4 separate regions of the Homo sapiens genome follow, and all the other regions are linked to region 1. The links are contacts of gene promoters, found by promoter capture Hi-C in blood cells and fetal thymus (Javierre and others, 2016). All regions are on one chromosome and are shown on one strand. Each heading gives the region's core, a stretch centred on a gene start or on the middle of the fragment in contact. The rest is flanking DNA. Distances are from core to core; before and after follow the strand shown.

Region 1 (4,885 bases), core at 1,562-4,061:
ATTATGGTCAAAGAATGCATTCCTAAGTTTTCATTTGAGTACCCAAATACACAAAAGGTGTCCCTTTAAGGAAAATAAAGAATTAAGTTTTAAATAACATTACATTTTACAATCTGACATCTGGAGTATATTGAACATAGGCTATTTCTTGATATAACACTCATTTAATTGTGGCCATCCAAATGAATATTATTGCAGAATTTATCTTGTTCATAATGATTTGTAAATGGTGTTATAGCTGAATACCTGTGCATGAAAATGGGCAATATTTTCATCTGTTTACTTGTAGTGCCATAGAGGCCAATATGCACAATATTAACTAATGCCAAGACATGGCTGTTTAAAAAATTTAATGTTCAAACAGTTATCACTGATGCTTTTGCACTATTTATTAATAAAATCATATATTGTGTACTTCTTTCACTGAAGTTTTTAAAAGTACATTAAGGGTAATCAGTAGTTCCATGGTAATATAGGAATAATTTTTAAATGTGTAGCAGAGTTATATCAAATTTTTATTGCACTTAATACTTTTGCTACAGCAATTTCTATAGTAAAAATTTACTGGTTTAATTTAACTTTCTGTATCAATATAATTTTTTTTTTTTTTTTTTTTGCGACAGAGTTTCGCTCTTGTTGCCCAGGCTGGAGTGCGATGATGCAACCTCAGCTCACTGCAACCTCTGCCTCCCCGGTTCAGGCAATTCTCCTGCCTCAGCCTCCGGAGTAACTGGGATTACAGGCGCCTGCCACCATGCACGGCTAATTTTTTGTATTTTTAGTAGGGACGGGGTTTCACCACGTTGGCCAGGCTGGTCTCAAACTCCTGACCTCAGGTGATCCACCCCCCCCCGCCCCCCTCGGCTTCCCAAAGTGCTGGGATTACAGGCATGAGCCACCATGCCTGACCATGTTTTTGTTTCTTTTAAGTGAATAAAACTTCAAACAAAATTAAGTACAAATACTAAAAAAGTAGGTGCTAGTATTTTAATATGAGAACATGTATGTGTTCTCATTCTTTGTTTTTGACTTAGATATGGCAGTTTTCTGTTCAAATGTTTTTTGGTTACTTATGTGTCACTGAGTTAAGTTTTCAGTAATCTTTCTAGCTACATATTGACAAATAAGTTTTATTATAAAACCATACGGAATAAATTTATAAGCTCTACCTGAAAAGTTACAGGTGTAGCTTACAATTTTGAAAGTGAAGGAACTAAAATTTAGCACCATATAGGTGCTATAATAATTCTCAAAGTAGCATTGTAAGAAGGTGACTCTATCTGAGAGCTGAATAAATAGTTTTAGATGGTTTAGGTAGGTCATTTCACCAAAGCTGTACAATTAGAAGTCTTGGAACTGTAACTGTACAGCTAATTTCAACCCGAATCTGCCCCAAATCTCCTCTGCAGACTACTTAGCTGTTTGAAAGTACTTGAGTTACTTGGTACTACTTGTGTACATGACTAAATTGTTAGTTTTAACATGCAAGTTTTTACTGTAGTTAGATAAAATTATTGGAAGATGATTATAACTTCTTAAGGGGTTCAATCTGATTTTTTAAAAGAAAAATAATTCTTTTTTGCAGAGTTCCTTGCAGTGGGGTAAAATATTCAAATATGGGAGGCAGGCATATAAGGTAAATAATCACAGCAGGGAGGGTGTAATAGGATGAGTGATAGGGGTCTGTGGCAAACTGGAGTGAGTGAAAATTATTTGGTGACCACTCTGGCTGACTATTCCCATGCTTGGTATTCATATTTTTCAAAAGCAGCTGGAAATCTAGATTTTTGAATGAAATCTGGCTTTTAGTTAGGATTTTGTCTTTAACTTGGGCCCAAACCAAATATAGCTGCAGACTGGATTAGGAAGGCCACCAATTTAAGGTATTTTCCCATGTCCAAATGTTCGAAGAGAATGCACACAGAAAAGGTTATGTTTTAAGTAATATGCACAGTGCACATTGTTAGGATAACAGCTTTAGTGCTTCCTAGGTGTCTTAGTCCATTTGGACTGCTGTAACAAATTGCCATAAACTGGGTGGCTTATAAGCAGTAGCAATTTGTTTCTTAACAGTTCTAGAGGCTGAGAAGTCCAAGATAAGGAGCCGGCAGATTTGGTGTCTGGTGAGGGCTGCTATTCTGGCTTAGAGTTGGTGCCTTCTTGCCGTGAGCTCCCTTGGGCCTCTCTTATAAGGGCACTAACCCCATTTATGAGGGCTCCATCATCATCTAATCATCTCCTAAAGGCTCCCCTTAATACTGTCCCATTGGAGATTAGGTTTCAACATAGGAATTTGTGCAGGGGACACCGACAGACCACAGTATTAGGGGTATTTTGACTGCAGCAATGAGTTTACTACTATTTTGAGAGAGAGGTTGTGCTTTATGCACCATGTGTTCCACGAGTTGGACACAGTGTTCATACGTGATCCTGTCTTTTAGGCAAGCCCAAACAAGTGTTTCTCCTTACAATACCAAGTTAATACAGAGCTTATTAAATATTTGAGACAAAGGGCTAAGAGAAGTGTGAGGCCCAATTTCCCTTTGCAATTATTGCTGGCAAGGTGCAAGCTTTTAGCACGTGAACTATTTTCCTGGAAAGCACACACACGAAAACTTGAATATTCCTTCCGGGGAAATCGACCTCTATCGGTAGCCATAGCTTCCCCTTCGCTAAGAACTGCTGTAAGCACGAAATCGACATCAATAGAAACCCTTCCGCGTTCCTCGGTAACTAACGGCAACCCTGCGCTCCCGGATGTGACGTCAACGTTCTTCTGTTCTTCCGTCTGTCGACCGAACTCTGGGCTCGTAGATTTGGTTGCTGTGTACGTGGAAGAAGCAAGCGCATGCGCACATGGGCCCCCTTCGTCTCAGCTGTGCGGGAACGGCCGAGGGTAACATCCCGGGCTCGCGGGAGGCTGTCGGGGTAATGGCCACACGCTGACAGAACCAGCCGAGTGGAAAAGGGGAGCGAAGCCGTTCCTCTGCACCCTTCCCCAGGCCTGAGGCCTTCCCGCTTGGTGCTGCCGCCGCCACTGCCGGCTGAGGAGGGGCGATGAGTTGGTTCAACGCCTCCCAGCTCTCCAGCTTCGCTAAGCAGGCCCTGTCCCAGGCCCAGAAGTCTATTGACAGGGTTCTGGACATCCAGGAAGAGGAGCCGAGCATCTGGGCCGAGACCATTCCGTATGGAGAGCCGGGTAAGAGAGAGAGGAGCGGGGTTCCTGGCTCCCGGAGGCTGCTGTTCTCTTGATGCAGGCAGGTTAAGTGGTGTAGAGAGGGGTCCTTCCTTGCTGAGAGAGTTTTCAGGAAGTAATTTCTCCCCGGCCCGTTCCCTAATGCTGCTTCAGCCTCCAAGTCGGTCTTTGCTGTTTTCCTGAGGGAAAACCCAGATCCAGGTTCCCCCTTGTCTTTCTTTGGTCCTGGGTGCGAGGCTTGTGGACTTGGATGACAGGGGACTTGGTTGGTTGGTCTTGCCCTCAAGCTCTCCCTCGACGCAGCTTCCAAGCACAACCTTCCCGAACCTGAACCTCGAATTGCTTCGCGTCTCGGGCACTGTTGGGATCCAAGGTCTGAAGTACGTAAATCATCAGGGAAGGGAAGAACAATCGCTAACAGTCAGTGAACATTTCGCGCTTGGTAGCGCGTAATGTGGTTTTATGTTGTTGTTGAGACGGAGTCTCACTCCGTCGCCCAGGCTGGAGTGCAGTGGCGCGATCTCGGCTCACTGCAACCTCCGCCTCCCAGGTTCTAGCGATTCTCCTTCCCCAGCCTCCCTAGTAGCTGGGATTACAGGCGCCCACCACCACGCCCGGCAACTTTTTGTATTTTTAGTAGGGACGGGGTTTCACTATGTTGGCCAGGCTGGTGGAACTCCTGACTTAAGGCGATCCACCCACCTCGGCCTCCTAAAGTGCTGGGATTACAGGCACGAGCCTGTAATGTGCTTTTTTATGGCCTTCTCATCTTCAGAACAACTCCCAGAGAGAGCTTGGTTTATATCCGTGTTTTACATAAGAGGAAAATGAGGCCCAGAATGGCCAAGTAACTTGCTCTAGGTCACACGGCGGAGGAGGATTAGAATGTGCCGGAGGTATTAGCCGGAAAATGTGTGACCCAAGATTTCTGGATGGTATCACATTTTATTTCTGAATAGCCAAGTCTCTCTTTGCAGTTTCATTGAGCTTAATCTTTCAGGGATCTTCATTCAGTTGCTTTTGACTCTTAAGTCTAAGGAACAGTTCAGCATTTGATGTGTGGGGTAAAGATTTGCTGGTGTTGGGGGATGTGAACCTTTGTGTGAAAAAGGATAAGAGATGTACTTGACTACTCCTTTCTGGTTTCTGTTCTTAATTTTACATCATTGAAAAGTCAGGACCTAAATTTGAGGTACCTCAGTTTAAGATATTTTGGTCCATGTGTGTATGTGATGATCCTCTTTACTTTTTACAAGATGTCATATAACCTTGCTGGAGTAACTCTGTTTTTTCATATGTGCCCCAGTTAATTAGAATTACTAAACTTTAGATAAGATAGAATATAGGTTTTACATATAAGGATATTTGTTTTCGGAAAATGCCCATAGTCTTCAGAATGGTATAATTTAGATGGATACCAAATAACCCTGGGATTATATAAAGTATTCTCCAAGAGGCAAAATTAATTCCTGTCATCTTTTGAATGTATTTAAATTAATCAGACATAATCTTGGTTGTTCATTTGCATATTTAATTTTGATTTTCTCTGGTTTGGATATTGTGCAAATGAATGTGTAGAACTATGCCTCCAAACTGAAGTTTTCTACATACTTTTCATCCTAACTGCCTTTGAAGTCATACATATATTTACATATATATATATTTGTTTTTTTGTTTTTTTTTTTTTTG
Region 2 (4,831 bases), core at 364-2,863, 1.4 Mb after region 1:
CACAGGGCAGGTTATTTCCCTTCATGGGCCTCCACTTCCTTTCTCACTGGGGACTACTGGCAGATTTCCAGACACTCATGAATCTTTGCATCTTCTTATTAGGGAGATTTTTGCACCAGCTTCATCTTTATTTATTTACCCATCCAGTCAATAGCAGTTGGGCACCTCCTGTCTTCCAGGCACTGTACTGTGGGCAGAATAATAACACTGCAAGAACACGGTCCCTGTCATTGCAGATTTTAAAATCCTGAAGGATGAAGCAGACAAGTAGCAAATGCAGTAACAAACCTCTAATAACCACTGAGATACCCCTAGCTCCCGCTTCAGGGAAGCTTCCTGAAGGGGGTGACTGAAACTCAAAGGATGAGAGAAACTCATGCTGGTGAACAACAGGGAAGGGTGTTTCAGATAGAGGGAAGAGCATAGAGGCATCTTTTGGAGCCTCAGTCCATACTTCTTGCTGGCATGTAGTAAATTAGGTTTTAGAGGGGCTGGGGAAAGTTTGAAGAGGATGGTAGAAGTAGGGGAAGAAAGGGAAGAGAAAATGTGAAAGGTGGGAATGGGATAGCTGCTGATATTCCCTCTAGCTATGCCAAAGTGCTACCTTTGATGCACTGCAACCTCTGCCTCCTGGATTCAAGTGATTCTCCTGCCCCTGCCTCCCAAGTAGCTGGGATTACAGGTGCCTGCCACCATGCCTGGCTAATTTTTGTATTTTCAGTAGAGACGGGATTTCACCATGTTGGCCAGGCAGGTCTTGAACTCCTGACCTCAAGTGATCTGCCAGTGACGGCCTCCCAAAGTGCTGGGATTACAGGCTTGAGCCACCGCGCCCGGCTGATGTTGGTGTTTCTCCAACCATGAAGCATGAACCACCTACAACAAAGACAGTGGAGTAGGGGCATTATTTATAAGAATGCAGATCCTCAAGCCCCAAGACAGACCTACTGAATCAGAACTTCTGGAGAGGATGGCCCAAAGGAATTCTGTTACACACCTAAGCTAAGAACCATGGCCTGTGGCTGGGCACAGTGGCTCTTGCCTGTAATCCCATAGCTTTGGGAGGCTGAGGAGGGAGAATAGCTTGAGTCCAGGAGTTTAAGACCAGCCTGGGCAACATAGTGAGCCCATCTGTATAAAAATATATATTTTTTAATTAGCCGGGTGTGGTGGCACATATATATAGTCCCAGCTACTCTGGAAGCTGAGGTGGGAGGATTGCATGAGCCCAAGAATTCAAAGCTGCAGTGAGCTATGATCATGCCACTGCACTCCAGCCTGGGTGACAGAGCAAGACTCAATCTCAAAAAATAAAAAAGAGAAGAAGAAAAAGAACCACTGCTGTGGCTGCTCACTTTATAATGAGGCAGGACATTTGTAAAAGAATGTTCCTTTAATTTTTACTTTACTGTTTAAAAGAAGCTATCTTAATAATATTGAAGGTGCTGAACTCCGCAGGTTCCAATTGCAATAAGAATTTAGGTTTTGTTTCTAACTTCTTTTCCACAGTCAATCTAATGCTACTTTTCTCTTTCGGTTCAAGAACCTCCACAGTCCTTTGTGTAAATGTTCTTTCCTCAGCTTTTACCATCTTCTTCATCCAGCTCCAAACTTCCTGCCAAAAGAATGTCATCACCCTTGTTTCCACCATTTCATCTTGTTCTCTGTTTTTAGTCTCTTCCACTGACCTTGTCTCCAGCTGGGCCTTCCCTAAGTTAATGATGTTCCTTACTCTTCCTCCTTTCTTATCTTAACTTTGAGCTGTCACCACTGCTCTAAACTTGCTTCCTGTGAATTCTCTCCAGGATGCAGTGAGAATTTCTCTTGAGCACACTTCAGTGTTGGCAAAGGAGACAGTTTTTGTCATAAATCCCTTTTCTTCTAGGCACCTTACATAGTCGTCCCTCACTGTCCATGGAGGACTGATTCCAGGAATTCCCATGGATAATAAAATTCATGGATGCTCAAATCTCTGATATAAAATGACATAATATTTCCATATAACCTATGCACATCTTCCTGTATACTTTAAGTCATTTTTAGATTACTTGTAATACCAAATACAATGTAAATGCTATGAAAATAGTTGCTACACTGTATTTTTTACTTGTATCATTTTTTATTATTGTTATTTTTTATTTTTTCCCCAGAATATTTTCAATCTGCAGTTGGTTGAATCATAGATGTGGAACCCACAGATACAGAGGACCGTCATTTAAATAAAGCTGCTGAGAAATACCATCAAAATTAATCATTTTAACGCATTATTGAAGAGGGAAAAATAACTTGAGCACAATGACCATTCTTTCTGTGCCACTGGCAAACAATACAACTGAATCACTGGTTAAAATGGCTATCACAAATAGCAACAGTGATATTACCTATGCATACAATGAAAGACCAAAAAGTTTAGTCTCCTGTAAATTCCAGAAATCTGTTATCCATTAAAAAATTAACCAGATGAAATCCACAGATGCCCTTTATTTCATCATTGTAATAGTGATTTTCATTCTTGACATGCAGCAGTATGAACTCAAATATGTAATTCATGAAAATTAGGGTTGTTTCTTAAAATATTCTATTCAGCTCTGCTGGTTACAATTAGTATTTGTCAAACAGTTTTTATGCTCAAGTGAAAAGGTAATGATAAAACACCACCAGAACTGCTAGATGCAGTATCCCTTTGCTGGGTTTCATGATATGTCTCTCTGGTAAATCTGCGCCCCTAGAGTAATCAGTGCGAATATGAAAATGAGCACATTATTTCACTGTTAACAGGCACTGCTAAGATGAAAGCGAAGGCATATAGGCCTGCTGATGTTTTTATTTTTCTTTTTGCAACAATTAACTGAATAAGAAACAGTATAGCCAAGGTGCTAGAAATACAAAGCTTAATCGTAGAGTTTTACAACTTCATATTTCAAATGCATGCAGTTTATGAGAAGTGTTACACTGTCAACTCACAGCTCAAATAAGATGTCATACTTGACCTTCATTTTACTAATAGGAAAACTGAGGTTCACAGATGTAAATACTAAAGAAATAAACACACGAAAAAGAGTTCTTAGTCAAATAATGAAGGTATGGTAGGTAACAGCCACTGGGATCTCAAGTGTTTGAGGATGCATCTCATTGGCAAAATAGGTACTATCATAATCCCCTTTCCACAGATCAAGGAATTGAGATTGTTAAGTAACTGGTCCAGGGTCATGGAGCTTTTAAATCACAGAGTCAACACTTGCAATGTCTACCTCTGTGCTTCAGTCTGATATCAGAGTGCAGAATGCTTTCAATAGTGCTATTGCCTATGGCCATAGTTACTGTTCAAGCAGTTCACAATTGCCATTTTGACACAGCAAAAGCGTAGAATAGCTGTTCATTCACCTTAAGCCAATGCTTCTACATGTCGCAGCCGATTTAGACCACGGGTAGAAAATGGGTCTGGTACCAGGTGTCAAGGCTCTCTGAAAGCACCAGTCATCATCTCCATCTATGATTTATCAACTTTTTGTCCTATATTTAGGAACCAAATGGGGGATAGCAGAGTAACTCGTCTTTGGATTCACCAGGAAACATCTTCAGAGTTCACCACTATGGTTTGCTTTGTTTGCTTTTTTAGTTCTCAAACTAAAGAACACTTTGGAAAGATTATTTAAAATGCAGGTCCCAGTCTCCATCCTAAGTGATTCTGATTTCATGAGTATGAGGTGGAGACCAGGAATCTGAATATTTGAAACTCTAAAACAAAATGTAATGGTTCCTTGACCACTACTCTCTATCCTCTTCTTGGAGGCAACCACTTTAGACTCTTAATACTTTTGTCTGGCATTTGTACATCTCTGTAATTCTCCAGTGCTATCAAGATAAATTACAAAGTGTCAGGGGTCTCCTAACCTACATCTCAGATTGGCCCTAGTGTTTCACATTTGATATCAAGCAAATATTTGTTATGGACCCACTAGAGGAAGAAAAAGAACATCTATGAAGTCTTTACTATGTGCAAGGTCTTTACATGCAACATCTGATCATTGACTACTTACTACTACCCTATGAACCAGGTATTTTCCTAGTCACAGGTGTTCAAGGGGGTGGAGGTCAGATTTGAATCCAATCCAGTTTGGCTGAAAACTTAATGCTTGTTCCAGGAAAGCACAGTGCAGAACTCTGGTAGAATCTAGATTCCCTGTTCTCAAAGAGATTCCTATTTGGGGGAGGTTGGAGGGTGGAAGCGGGGAGTATGAAATAGGGAGAAATCTTACGAGGAACTCTATAATGCAATTCATTCCACATATGTTTATTGATTACTTTTTCTAATCAAAGTCCAGTGCTAGACACTGGAGGTGCTACATAAATGGTTCTCTTTCTTCCTTCTGTCCCTTCTCCCCTACCACCTTCCTGCAGAGAAGGCAGAATGAGATAATACGAGTAAAGACACTGAGGAATTGCTGATGAAAGATTTGGACCCCAGAACCAAGGATGAGACAGTCTTCCAATTCAGACAGGAAAACTCTTAGGAGGCTGCTAACCCTGGAAAGACCCCAAGTTACGCACCAGTAGATAGTAAACAAATCAAAGAATACCAAATGTACTTGGATGACAATCAGAAAGCCTCTCCCGACTCCACTTTCAAAAATCCCCCCATAATAGAATAATCGCATCTTAAAAGAACACTCATCAATCAAAGACAGTCTTAAGAGTCTCTCCTTTATCTCTATAAAACTAACACTTCTTTCAAACGACTTCTAGTCTCATTTGGAAGGAAAGTGATAGTAGCCAACTCCCTTAGCATAGTAACGTCTGAATAAACAGCCTTTGATTAATTCTATAGGTG
Region 3 (5,245 bases), core at 1,572-4,071, 2.0 Mb after region 1:
TAACCCATAGGAGAAAAATCAATAGAAACTCATCTAGAAATGCTACAAGTGATAAAAGTACTAGACAAGGACCTTAAAACTGTTATTTAACTACTCCATATACTCCAGAAGCTAGAGGAAAGATTGAATATGTTAAGTGGGGACATGAAAGACATGAAAAGATACAAATCAAACTTCCAGGGATGAAAACTACAGTGTCTGAGATGCAAAATACACTGGATAGGAAAACAACTATAGCTTAGATATTGCAGAACGAAAGGTTAGTTAACTTGAAGTCATAGCAAATAGAAATTGTCCAAAATAAATCATAGAGAGATAAACAGCTCTAAAGATTAAAAAGGATATCAGTGAACTATGGGGAACTTCAAGCAGTCAAATATATGTGTAAATTATGCCTTAAAAAGGAGAGGATAGAAAGGAAACGGAAAATAAAATTTGAAAAGGTACCGAGTGCCACAATAGAGAGGTGTGGACAAAATAGCTGCCTCTGAGGCAAACTTTGGCCCATGAAAAGGCAAAAGATGAGCAGGAACCATTGGAAATGTCCTTATCTATTCCTCATTCTACTCTGGAATACCTGTGTTCTGTACAGGTTTTCAAGGGAGAGGCCACTTGGGTGAGTGACTTTGCATCTCACAAAGCAGCAGATGGCTGAATGCTGCATCACCTATATCTGCTTTCCATCTGTCTTAGTTTATTTGTGCTGCTGTCACAAAATACCACAGACTGGATAATTTACATACAACATAAATTTATTTCTCATGGTTCTGGAGGCTGGGAGGTCCAAGATCACGGTGCCAGCAGGTTTGGTGTCTGGTAAGAGCTTCGTCTCCCTTTCCAAGATGGCGCTTTCTTGCTGCATCCTTCAGAGAAAAGGAACACTATGTCCTCACGTGCTGGAAGGGATGGGAGGGCAAAAGAGAGCTCCCTTCAACATTGAGTCCTTTTATAAGGATGCTAATTCCAGTCACTAGGGCAGAGTCCTCATGACTTCCAAAGTTCATATCTCTTAAAACTATTGCATTGGTGATTAAGTTTCAATATGAATTTTGGAAGGGACACAAACATTCAAACCATTGCACCATCCTCTGACTCACACCATCTTGGGATTACACTTTCCTATAAAGCATTAGCATTTCTATGTTACCTCACCTTTGGTTTTAGCAAAACCCCAACTAAAACAGTACAGTGCAGGAAAGAAAAATACTTGGACTTGATGGAAGAAGGTTGAGGTAATTTTCCTCTGATTACTTCTAGTTTTTTTTCTCTGAAGATGATGATGAGATAAGGAAATGAAGCCTTGACAAGAGTGGAGAATATTTTACTTAAGTGCTGTAAAAAATAAGCAAAAGAGACTATATAAAACTGAAAATAGTATTATTAGAGAAAAAGAACAAGCCATTTGAGGTCAGTGACCACAATCATATATTAGCCTTAGTTTGCACAGTTGTATTCAGCACTTCCCAGAAGTCTGCATATGAAAAAGGTAGATTCTGGGATTTGTCCAAATATAGATGGAATTTGGTCAGTCAAGTGCAAGAAAAGGTTAAGAGGTCAAGGGAGTTCAGAATATTTGTAAGACAGTGATTGAAGAGAAGCAAATTCTAAGCTGAGCAGTGAAAAGTGAAATAAATTAAGACAGAGGAGCCTGGGAGGGAAACCAGAAAGGACTGTAGTCCTGAGTGTAGGCAAAGGCTGATTTCTTGGAAAGAATAGAGAGAATTGAAAGAAAAGAAGGTTGTGATCTGGGAACGCAGTGTCTAAATTGACAATATCAGGACTGAGTAAATTTCACTGACAGATGTAAAAATGTGATTATCAATGGGTGGCTAAAGTGGTGTGAAGAGAGTGACTCCAAAAGTCATTGGCAATGTAAAATAAAACTGGTTTGTAAAGCAAAAAACAGAAAATTAGAGCCAACTCTAGAATATTTTATCTCTTTTATGTTCTTTAACTAGGTTGCTTATTTTTGGACTAAATATCAACTGCCTTTCTTTACTAATTTGCCTTCCCCATATCAAAAATACTAGCTTGAGTTCAGAAGAACAAAAGTATATTTAAGTAAATAGAAGGTGAAATGTGTGGAAAAAAGGACAGAGGAAGAAATACTTCCGTTGGCAGGGTCAAAAGGGACAGGCAAAAGCCCAGTAAAGTTGAATGAGTCACTCACCTTGCCTCACTTTTTAAAGGTTTCACTTTCCTTGTATGTATAAAATAAAAATACTACTACTTATCTCATTAAGTTGTTTTAAAGATTACGTTGAGCAATTAAAATTATCTAATGCTTGACATATGAACTTATATAAACCTACAAATACACATGTGTTTAAACTAGGTTCTATTAGTATAGTCTTATATTAATGTGAGTTTTTAATGATAGAGTATAAATGCTTATAAACTGTTATTTGTATTACTGAGGTGCAAAAGGAATAATCTTTTAAAGCAAAACATGCACAATAAAACTCTGCTTTCTGTTGGACTGTCATAAGATATGTGATACCTAATTTGGAATAAGATGTGTCAGATGTCACTGTTAAATATTTCTTAGATTGTTTTATTTGGCAGCCCATTTCCATAAGTAACATCAGCCAGTTTGAACCTCATATTTTTTAGAGTCTTGTGTGGTACATAATTAATTCCCAGAGATTCTGTCCCTGGAGACCTGTTTGAAAAATAAAATAAAATGTAAATGATGTTATTTAAATGAAAAGCCCATAGGTTAAAGCTTTCATTTCTAGTGAAGATAGAATAAATACTCTCAGGCGAAGAATGAGCAATACCCACGCAGAAAGAATAGCAATGGCACGGCGGGAGGGGCCTGAACAAGGGAAGTGAATTCGAATGAACTCTACTGCTCACCTGCATTTCCATCTACTGCTTGGAACGTCTTGAATGGGACACTGGGATGCCAAGCTTCAATTTCTCCACCTTAAAAAAATAACCAACTTGTTGCTACCTATCTCCAAAGCTTTGTAGATTCCCAAATAAAATGGTGCATGTATAACCTGAATTTTACAAGTACACTATCAAAAAGGAGATATCATTCATCAGAGGCAACCTGGCCCCAGTGTTTTTCAGTTACATTTGATCTTTCAGCTGTTTCATGGCAGAACCATCTTCCCCAACCTTTTTATTTTTTTAAATCACTCTGTAAAACATTCTAGTTTACCGGGTGGTTTTCTTTACATTGTAAATCTCATTGTTTGCTGTTAACAGGAGTCTTTTTTTTTCTTCCAAAGTAAAGACAAAATACCTATTAAATGCAAAAATAGAACTTCTTTCATAGGGTAGGAAGTGGATTTGACATGAAATGAGCATCTAACCTGGCACATTTAATTGCAGTACTGAAGACCCAGAGATTTACTTGAAAATAAGCCAAGTACATTTAAAACTCTTATTACCCAGCAACGGGCAGTTCGGGGTTACATGCATATTAATCAGCAGAGACTGCTGGGGATCCAGGTGTGCAGGTGTTTTCCCTATATAAATGTGCATGTAAAAATGATTTGCATATTTAATTTCTCATAGCAACTTATTGAGTCAGCCAGTAGTCAGGTACTTTCCTGAAAATCTCAACTGAGAGTTTTCATTTCTTTAGGTCCATAGAAAACACAAAAAGAGGAAAGCAGCTTCAAACTGGAAAGCAATCCTTGGTTTCCTTGAAAGACTCCATAGGCCTTAATTCCTTAAAAATGTGTGTGCTGCAAAACATTGATTCCATGAATATAAATTCAGGAAAACTAAACAGAGGACTTATGTAAACTGTGGATAAAATATGAACATGAAACTAGAGGTAAAAGTGGTGGCATGAGATTCTTGGCTCCAACAGTTTTACATAGTCTCACTGAACATGGATGGACCAAGAAATTGTGTATAGGATTTCGCTGAAGACTACAGTGCACCATCAGATGATCATATCCATTCAAAAGCTGTAAGATTGAATAAGTAATTTGAAAGATGGCAGCTAATGGATTCTTAATCACTCTGGTTGTTTTGGGCTCTGGAAAGCATTCTTCTTATTCGGTTACAACATGTGTGTGTGTGTGTGTGTGTGTGTGTGTGTGTGTGTGTAATGGCCAATGAGATTATTGATTTTTCTCTTAGAAAGGTGAAAAAGTCAACTTATTTGGGGAAACAAGTCAGACTCTTGTCTATCAAGCCATCTACTCCACAGTTTGATCTTGAAAAATCTTAGTGATTTGGCTGTGCAGTGATACATTTTGATACTGGAGATAATAATGTGTTGTGGAGAATCTGGTCTTGGGGATATCACATGAAATAAAAAAAAAATAAAACTCTACTGCCCAAGCAGAAACAGAGGAGAAGTTACTTAATGGATACGATGTGTGTTATTCTGTTGATGGATACACTAAAAGCCCTGACTTCACCACTATGCAATATATCCATGTAACAAAATTATCCTTGTAACCCATAACTGTATACAAATAAAATTTTAAATAAAAATAAAGCCATTGAGCATTATTCCATCATCTGTGTGCTAGGTGTGTGTGCACAAAGTAGATTCATGGCTTGCATCTTACCGCATTCATCCATCTTAGCATATGCATGAGAATATGAGCAGGTGCCCTTCCATGTTACAAATTACTGGGATTATACTATCACCCAATGCTGTCACAAAGGAATCCAGCAAGAGTTTTTATCTCATTTCTACTGAGATGTTATATGTCATTAATGTTTTATTAATAAGCTTCTGGATAGAATATGATATTTGTCTTTTTGTCAATGAGAAAAGCTACAAATATAATGGCATATTCTCAAAGTTTCATAACAGACAGCATGGTGAAAACTAAGAAAATATTTAGATGATCTTTTTTTTATTTCACATGACACTCTTTCAACTGCCATGTAAAATCTTCATGTTGAAGATTCACTTGTCTCTACCTAAACAGATTCAAATCTTACATTCACCTCAAAGTGCTATTTATTGCATCATCAGTGTAATTCTGAAATCACACTTATGTAGTTATTGTATTGGCACTTTAAAGTAGCAATCTAGAAAGAGATGCCATGCCAAAAAAAAAAAAAAAAAAAAACCAAAGTATCAATGAGCCACTCATGAGCCGTAGAACCATTATTAAAAATTGCAATTATAACATAGTATAACTGTAGCAAATAAAAGTGGGAAATTAACTAATGAAAATGGCAATAAGAAAATGATGTGAAAACACATTAGTGAAATGATCTGCACCCTGTTAACTAAAAGTTACTGAGAACTAATCAGGCT
Region 4 (5,640 bases), core at 898-3,397, 1.4 Mb after region 1:
TTTTTTTTTTTTTTTTTTAGGAGGGAAGAAAATCTCAGTCTAATTCGTGACCTCTCCCACATTCCCAGGGTTGAACCATGGTGCTGGGATCCTCAGCTGAGCCGAAAGTCTCAACAATAGACAGGCTTTCCTGGTTTCTCAGTGATGTGTGGGACCAAGGAATTAGCATCGATTACCCCCACACTCTTCCTGCCCACCTGGCCCTTCCAGTGCACAGGGTCTCTGCTGCTTCCATGCTGTGTCTGTTCATGGACAGCCATTGTCCTAAGGCTTTACTACCTCCCAGGCAGCCCCAGGATTCAGGCACTTCTAAACTTCCCTTTGGTCTCTCCAACCCCTCCACAATGTGGAGGGATACCTCTAATCTTGGGGGACGGGGAGAGGAAATCATATGCTCCCCTTTACTTCTTTAGCACATTTTGGTATGTATACCTGTAAGTTTTAGTCTTCTTACTTTTCTATTATCTTCTTCACCCAATTCCTCCAAAATTTCATCAAGGGGTCATAAATAGGTGGCCCTGGGGCTGACTACAGCGCACAGACAGGCATTGTGTGGCTTGCACAGTGTTTGGTTTTGTTGTTTAAGTTAGATTTGAATCCTTTAAAGAAGAAAAGTGGCTCTTCAGTTTACTACAGACCTCATCATCTCCTGGTTCTCTTGCACCCAGTCCACTTCACCTGTTTACGTTCCCTGTCTCATCCTTCTAGGTAATTTGAGTTTCCAACCTGTGGCCTTCACTATGGAAAAACAAAACAGGCCATGACTGTATACAGCATATTCTTATTTGAGCTGAAGGAAATACACAGAGGAAACATAATATAGATTCATATCTGTGACTCTATAGATAACAACTTCATGTCTCAAAATACTATGTTAGCCACACATGAAAAGATAGCAGCAAAGGTGCCACAGTGATGTGTGGGCAGGAGGTGCAGAGCACTAACACCTGGCCTCCTGAGTTTCAAAACCACAAGTCTGCTGGATGAATACAAATCTGTACAATAGCATTTCAGACTGCTTGTCATAAGGCAATTATCTCCTTTTTTAGTTCTCTCTTTCTCAGCCTCAACAATCAAACTATGTAACTTGCCCTTGCCTTCATCTGCCCTGCTCACTTTGCCCTGAATGATTTAGTTCATTATCTTCCCTCTATCCCTGAATGTCCTTCCTACTGATATCTATAGTCAGAAGCTTAATTATCCTTCAAGTAGGAACTCAAACTCTATCTTCTTATGCTTTTACAAAAGGTTCTTGTCTTCTTTTCAGGCTTATCCTCCTTTACCAGCCCATTAGCCATAGCAATTCCTCAGGAATCTTAGGGCCTCTCTTTTGATCCCCCTCCTTGGATAATCTCATTCATGATCATAGGTTCAATTATTATCTTTATGCAGATGGAGCGTGCACACACACACACACACACACACACACACACACATATATATGTATGTATGTATGTATGTATATATATATATATGCTCAGCCTGGGAGAGACCACATATTTAATACATATTTAATTTTAACAGTTTTTTTTTTTTGGTTGTTGTTGTTGTTCTGAGACAGGGTCTTGTTCTGTCACACAGGCTGAAGTGAAGTGGTGTGAACACAGCTTACTGCATCCTCAAACTGCTAGGCTCAATCAACCCTTCTGCCTCAGCCTCCAGTGTAGCTAGGATGACAGGTATGCATGCTCAGCTAACTTTTTTATTTTTTGTAGACACAGGGTCTCACTTTGTTGCCCAGGCAGATCTCAACAGCTCCTTTTTTTTTTGGATGTTTCAAAAGCATCTCAAGTTCAGCATGACTTAACTAATGATCTTTCTCCACTTAACTGAGATCCTTTCTCAGGAATGGCCACTGTGAATCAACCATTCTATTAACATGTCAGAAACCTAGATGTTGTTTAGGATGTGCCCTTCTTTCTTACCACCCATATCTAAAACATCACAAATGTGATGTTTTGTAAGGGGAAGATGGCCCAATAAGACCCACTCAAAGATGGTGTATCCAACTCTTGTGTTTATCATTGTAAATTGTGGGCACTTTGATTTCCTTCTTTTAGTGTTTTTGGAAGGAATCGTTCATCAATTCTGGGACATTGATAGCGTGAATTTCATAATCGGTAAGGATGAGAAGGGAAGTGCCTTGGCTGTGATAATTCCCCAGGATAAATATCACAATGTGAGGACCTATCTGAGTAGCCCACTCATGACTCCAGGTGCCTACCACTCTCTGTCACTGTGAACCCAGCTGTATTAGTCTAGGTTCTCCAGAGAAATAGAACCAATAAGAGATACAACTATAGATATAGATTTACTATAAGGAATTGGCTTGCATGATTACGGAGACTGAAAATTCAAAGATCTGCAATAGGCAAGTTGGAGACCCAAGACCAAAAGCAACAGGAGACTGATGTTCCAGTTTGAAAACAGACAGAGAAGGAGAATTTTTTCTGCTGCAGCCTTTTATTTTATTAGGCCTTCTCAACAGATTTGATGAAGCCTGCCCACACTAATGAGGGCAATCTGCTTTACTCAGTCCACCAATTCAAATGTCAGTATCATCTAGAAATACCCTCACAGATACACCAAGAAATAATATTTCACCAAATATCTGGGCACCTCGTAGCCCAGTCAAGTGGACACATAAAATTAACCATCACTCTCACTAAACATTGCTAACTCATCAACTAAACCTTCACTACCATCCCACTCAACCTCACCTCACCTCACTACCAACCATCAAGTCAACCTCACCTCACTAACTCATCAACTTCAACCTTCATCCCACATGGAAACCAGGTTCACCAAAGGGACATGCATCCCTTCTCTGAATCACGAGCTCCAACCATTCCTGGTAGCAGAGGCTGTGTCTAACCATCAGTCTTTCTCTGAAGGAGAAAAGAATGCCATAAAAACACAGCATTTCCCAAAGTTGATTCTATGGAACACCAGTCCCATAAGATACTCTGGGGAAAAAAAGAAAGATTTCTTGAAAACAAAATGTTATATCCCCATATGAGTTTTCTATGCTGCATAACATATCACCACAAACTTAGCAGCTTAAAGCAACCATTTTTTATCTAGGTCAGGAGTCCAAGCTTGGCTTGGCTGGGTCCTCTGCTCAGAGTCTAACAGGGGTGAAATCATGGTGTTAGCTATGTTCTTTCCTGGAATTCAGGGTCCTCCTTCAAGCTCATATGGTAGAATTCAGCTCCTGGTAGAGGCTGAACTGAGGCCCCCAGCAGAGAGAGATGTACTCTCTCCACAGGCAGTCGCACTTAGCTGTCTGTTCTTCAAGGTCAGTGCGAAGAGCCCAGTCCCTCTTATTTAGTCAGGCCCACACAGGAGATTCTCCTTTTTGACTAATGTAAAGTCAACTGATTTGTGATCCTTCACTTTTGCTACATCATATCGCCTACTCACAGGAGTGCTATCCCATCAGTTTCACAAATCCCACCCTCACTCAGTGGAAGATCAGATAGGACAGGTAGGCTAGGGGGTTAGAATCCTAGGAGCCTGCCATAACTCAGATTTAGTTTGTGAATTAGCATATTATGGGCTCTGAGAAATCCTATAGTAAAGAAATACGGTTAACTTTGTTCCACCTATTGTTAACCAAATTCATTTGGCCCATATAAAAACGTAATTTTCACATAGCACCAATTATCATCTTTGTAGTTACTGGTTTGTGTCATCCATGTTTTGGGATATGCTGAAACAGAAAAGGCCTGCACTGTGAAGTTAGACTGTCCATGATTAAAATTCCCACACCGGACCAGGTGCGGTAGCTCATAACTGTAATCCCAGCACTTTGGGAGGCTGAGGCAGATTGTTTGAGCTCAGAAGTTCAAGACCAGCCTGGGCAACATGGCAAAACCCTGTCTCTACTAAAAATACACATGCATAAAAAAATCATAAAGAAAAAAATTTTTTTAATTTTTTAAAGGAAAAAAAATCCCCACTGTGACACTTCCAAGTGACTTCAACTTGGGCAAATTTCTTGACCTCGCATAACCTTGATAAAATGGATGTGGACTATCAGCACTCCACTTCTCAAGCTGTTACCACAATGCAATGGAAGTAATTAACACCTTGGAATATGCTTGGCACAGGTTAGAGGTCCAAAAAGATTTTTTAAAACATTTTGGCTCCCTTCTTTCCCATTTTTCACATGAAATTTTATAAACAATTACAAAAATGATACTCTATTAATGTTAGAGTGTTATAAGCTTCCTAGATAACAGACTTGAAGCTTCATAACATCCTTAAGCTAAAAAAATTACTTAAATTTAAGAGGTAGGTTGGGCATGTTGGCTCATACCTATAATCCCATCACTTTGGGAGGCCGCGACAGGTGGATTACCTGAGATCAGGAGTTCGAGACCAGCCTGGCCAACATGGCAAAACCCTGTCTCTACTAAAAATACAAAAAAAAATTAGCTGGGTGTAGTGATGCACACCTGTAGTCCCAGCTACTCAGAAGGCTAAGGCAGAAAATCACTTGAATCTGGGAGGTGGAAGTTGCAGTAAGCCGAGATCATGCCATTGCACTCCAGCCTGGGCAACAGAGCAAGACTCAGTCTCAAAAAAATTATCATCATAATAAAATAAATAAATAAATTTAAGAGGTAGAATCTTTATTTATTCTGCCCATTGTAATTAATTTATGTTTAAAACAGCATGTTTCATCCATACTACCAGCACAATGAATCCAGAAATGAATCATTGGCATATGTATGTAAAGAGTTTCAGAACCCTTCTAAACCACCAAAGCAACAAAAACATGAAGAATTTGATGTTATTGTCTAAGTTGAATTGGTTAACATTGATTGAGATGTAACAACAATGTTAACTGCCGTTCCTTTTATAATAATTCAAGCAAAGTATTATGTAAAACCTTCAGCAACATAATGTAAATCACAAGCTATTTAATGCCTTCAGAACAAGTACCAACTATTACAGAGAAATTATTTGACATTTAGGCTAACCTGCAGGGGAATGTCTGTACAGTACTGATTAAAAAGGTATAAAATGACAAAACTTGTGATTAATATTTAAACACTGTAACAATTGTGTGACCTCCTGCAAAGCATCCTTTCTCAGCCTCAGTTTGCTTATCAATAAAATGAGTATAGCACCCACATCATAGGAATATTGTAAAGATAAAATACATAAAACTTAGCGTAGTGTGCATTACTTATTAAATGCAAAGTTAATTATTATACAAATTCAAGTTACAATTTGTGTTAGTCCATTCTCACAGTGTTATAAAGAACTACCTGAGACTGGGTAATTTATGAAGAAAAGAGATTTAATTGGCTCACAGTTTCGCAGGCTGTACAGGAGGCATGGCTGGGGAGGCCTAAGGAAATTTACAATCATTGCAGAGGTGAAGGGGAAGCAAGCACGTCTTCTTACGGATGGCAGGAGAGAGAGAGAGAGAGAGAGAGACAGAGATAGAGAAGGGGAAGATGCTACACACTTTCAAACAACCAGATCACGTGAGAACTCTATCACAAGATAGCACTTGGGGGATGGTGCGAAGCCATTATAACCACCTCCATGGTCCAGTCACCTCCCACCAGGCCCTGCCTCCAACACTCAAAATCCCAATTCAACATGAGATTTGGGTGAGAACAC

Evidence for each region. Contacts are between HindIII fragments. The CHiCAGO score rates a contact against its expected background, and 5 or more counts as called.
Region 2: a fragment that was not itself captured here is called in contact with the fragment with the promoter of TMF1 in region 1 in 5 of 17 cell types (total CD8 T cells, naive CD8 T cells, non-activated CD4 T cells and 2 more); the score reaches 10.7 in total CD8 T cells.
Region 3: a fragment that was not itself captured here is called in contact with the fragment with the promoter of TMF1 in region 1 in 1 of 17 cell types (total B cells); the score reaches 5.4 in total B cells.
Region 4: a fragment that was not itself captured here is called in contact with the fragment with the promoter of TMF1 in region 1 in 1 of 17 cell types (naive CD8 T cells); the score reaches 5.9 in naive CD8 T cells.

Annotation. Positions count from the first base shown.
Region 1 is chr3:69,050,259-69,055,143 of GRCh38, reverse strand. TMF1 (TATA element modulatory factor 1) reads left to right here and starts at 2,811. Exons shown (of 17, transcript NM_007114.3): 1 at 2,811-3,199. The coding sequence starts at 3,058. UBA3 (ubiquitin like modifier activating enzyme 3) reads left to right here. Exons shown (of 18, transcript NM_003968.4): 18 at 1-414. RefSeq lists an enhancer at 2,750-3,219. The HindIII fragment of the contact is 2,649 bases long and covers 2,573-4,885 here.
Region 2 is chr3:67,658,125-67,662,955 of GRCh38, reverse strand. The region is part of intron 1 of SUCLG2-DT (SUCLG2 divergent transcript); the gene reads right to left. Among named protein-coding and RNA genes, the nearest start is that of SUCLG2-DT, 5.8 kb to the right of the region's middle. The HindIII fragment of the contact is 2,558 bases long and covers 335-2,892 here.
Region 3 is chr3:67,073,719-67,078,963 of GRCh38, reverse strand. LOC124909391 (a long non-coding RNA gene) reads right to left here and starts at 2,930. Exons shown (of 2, transcript XR_007095954.1): 1 at 2,860-2,930; 2 at 735-896. The HindIII fragment of the contact is 188 bases long and covers 2,728-2,915 here.
Region 4 is chr3:67,674,172-67,679,811 of GRCh38, reverse strand. The region is part of intron 3 of SUCLG2-DT (SUCLG2 divergent transcript); the gene reads right to left. Among named protein-coding and RNA genes, the nearest start is that of SUCLG2-DT, 22 kb to the right of the region's middle. RefSeq lists a silencer at 898-1,057. The HindIII fragment of the contact is 1,906 bases long and covers 1,195-3,100 here.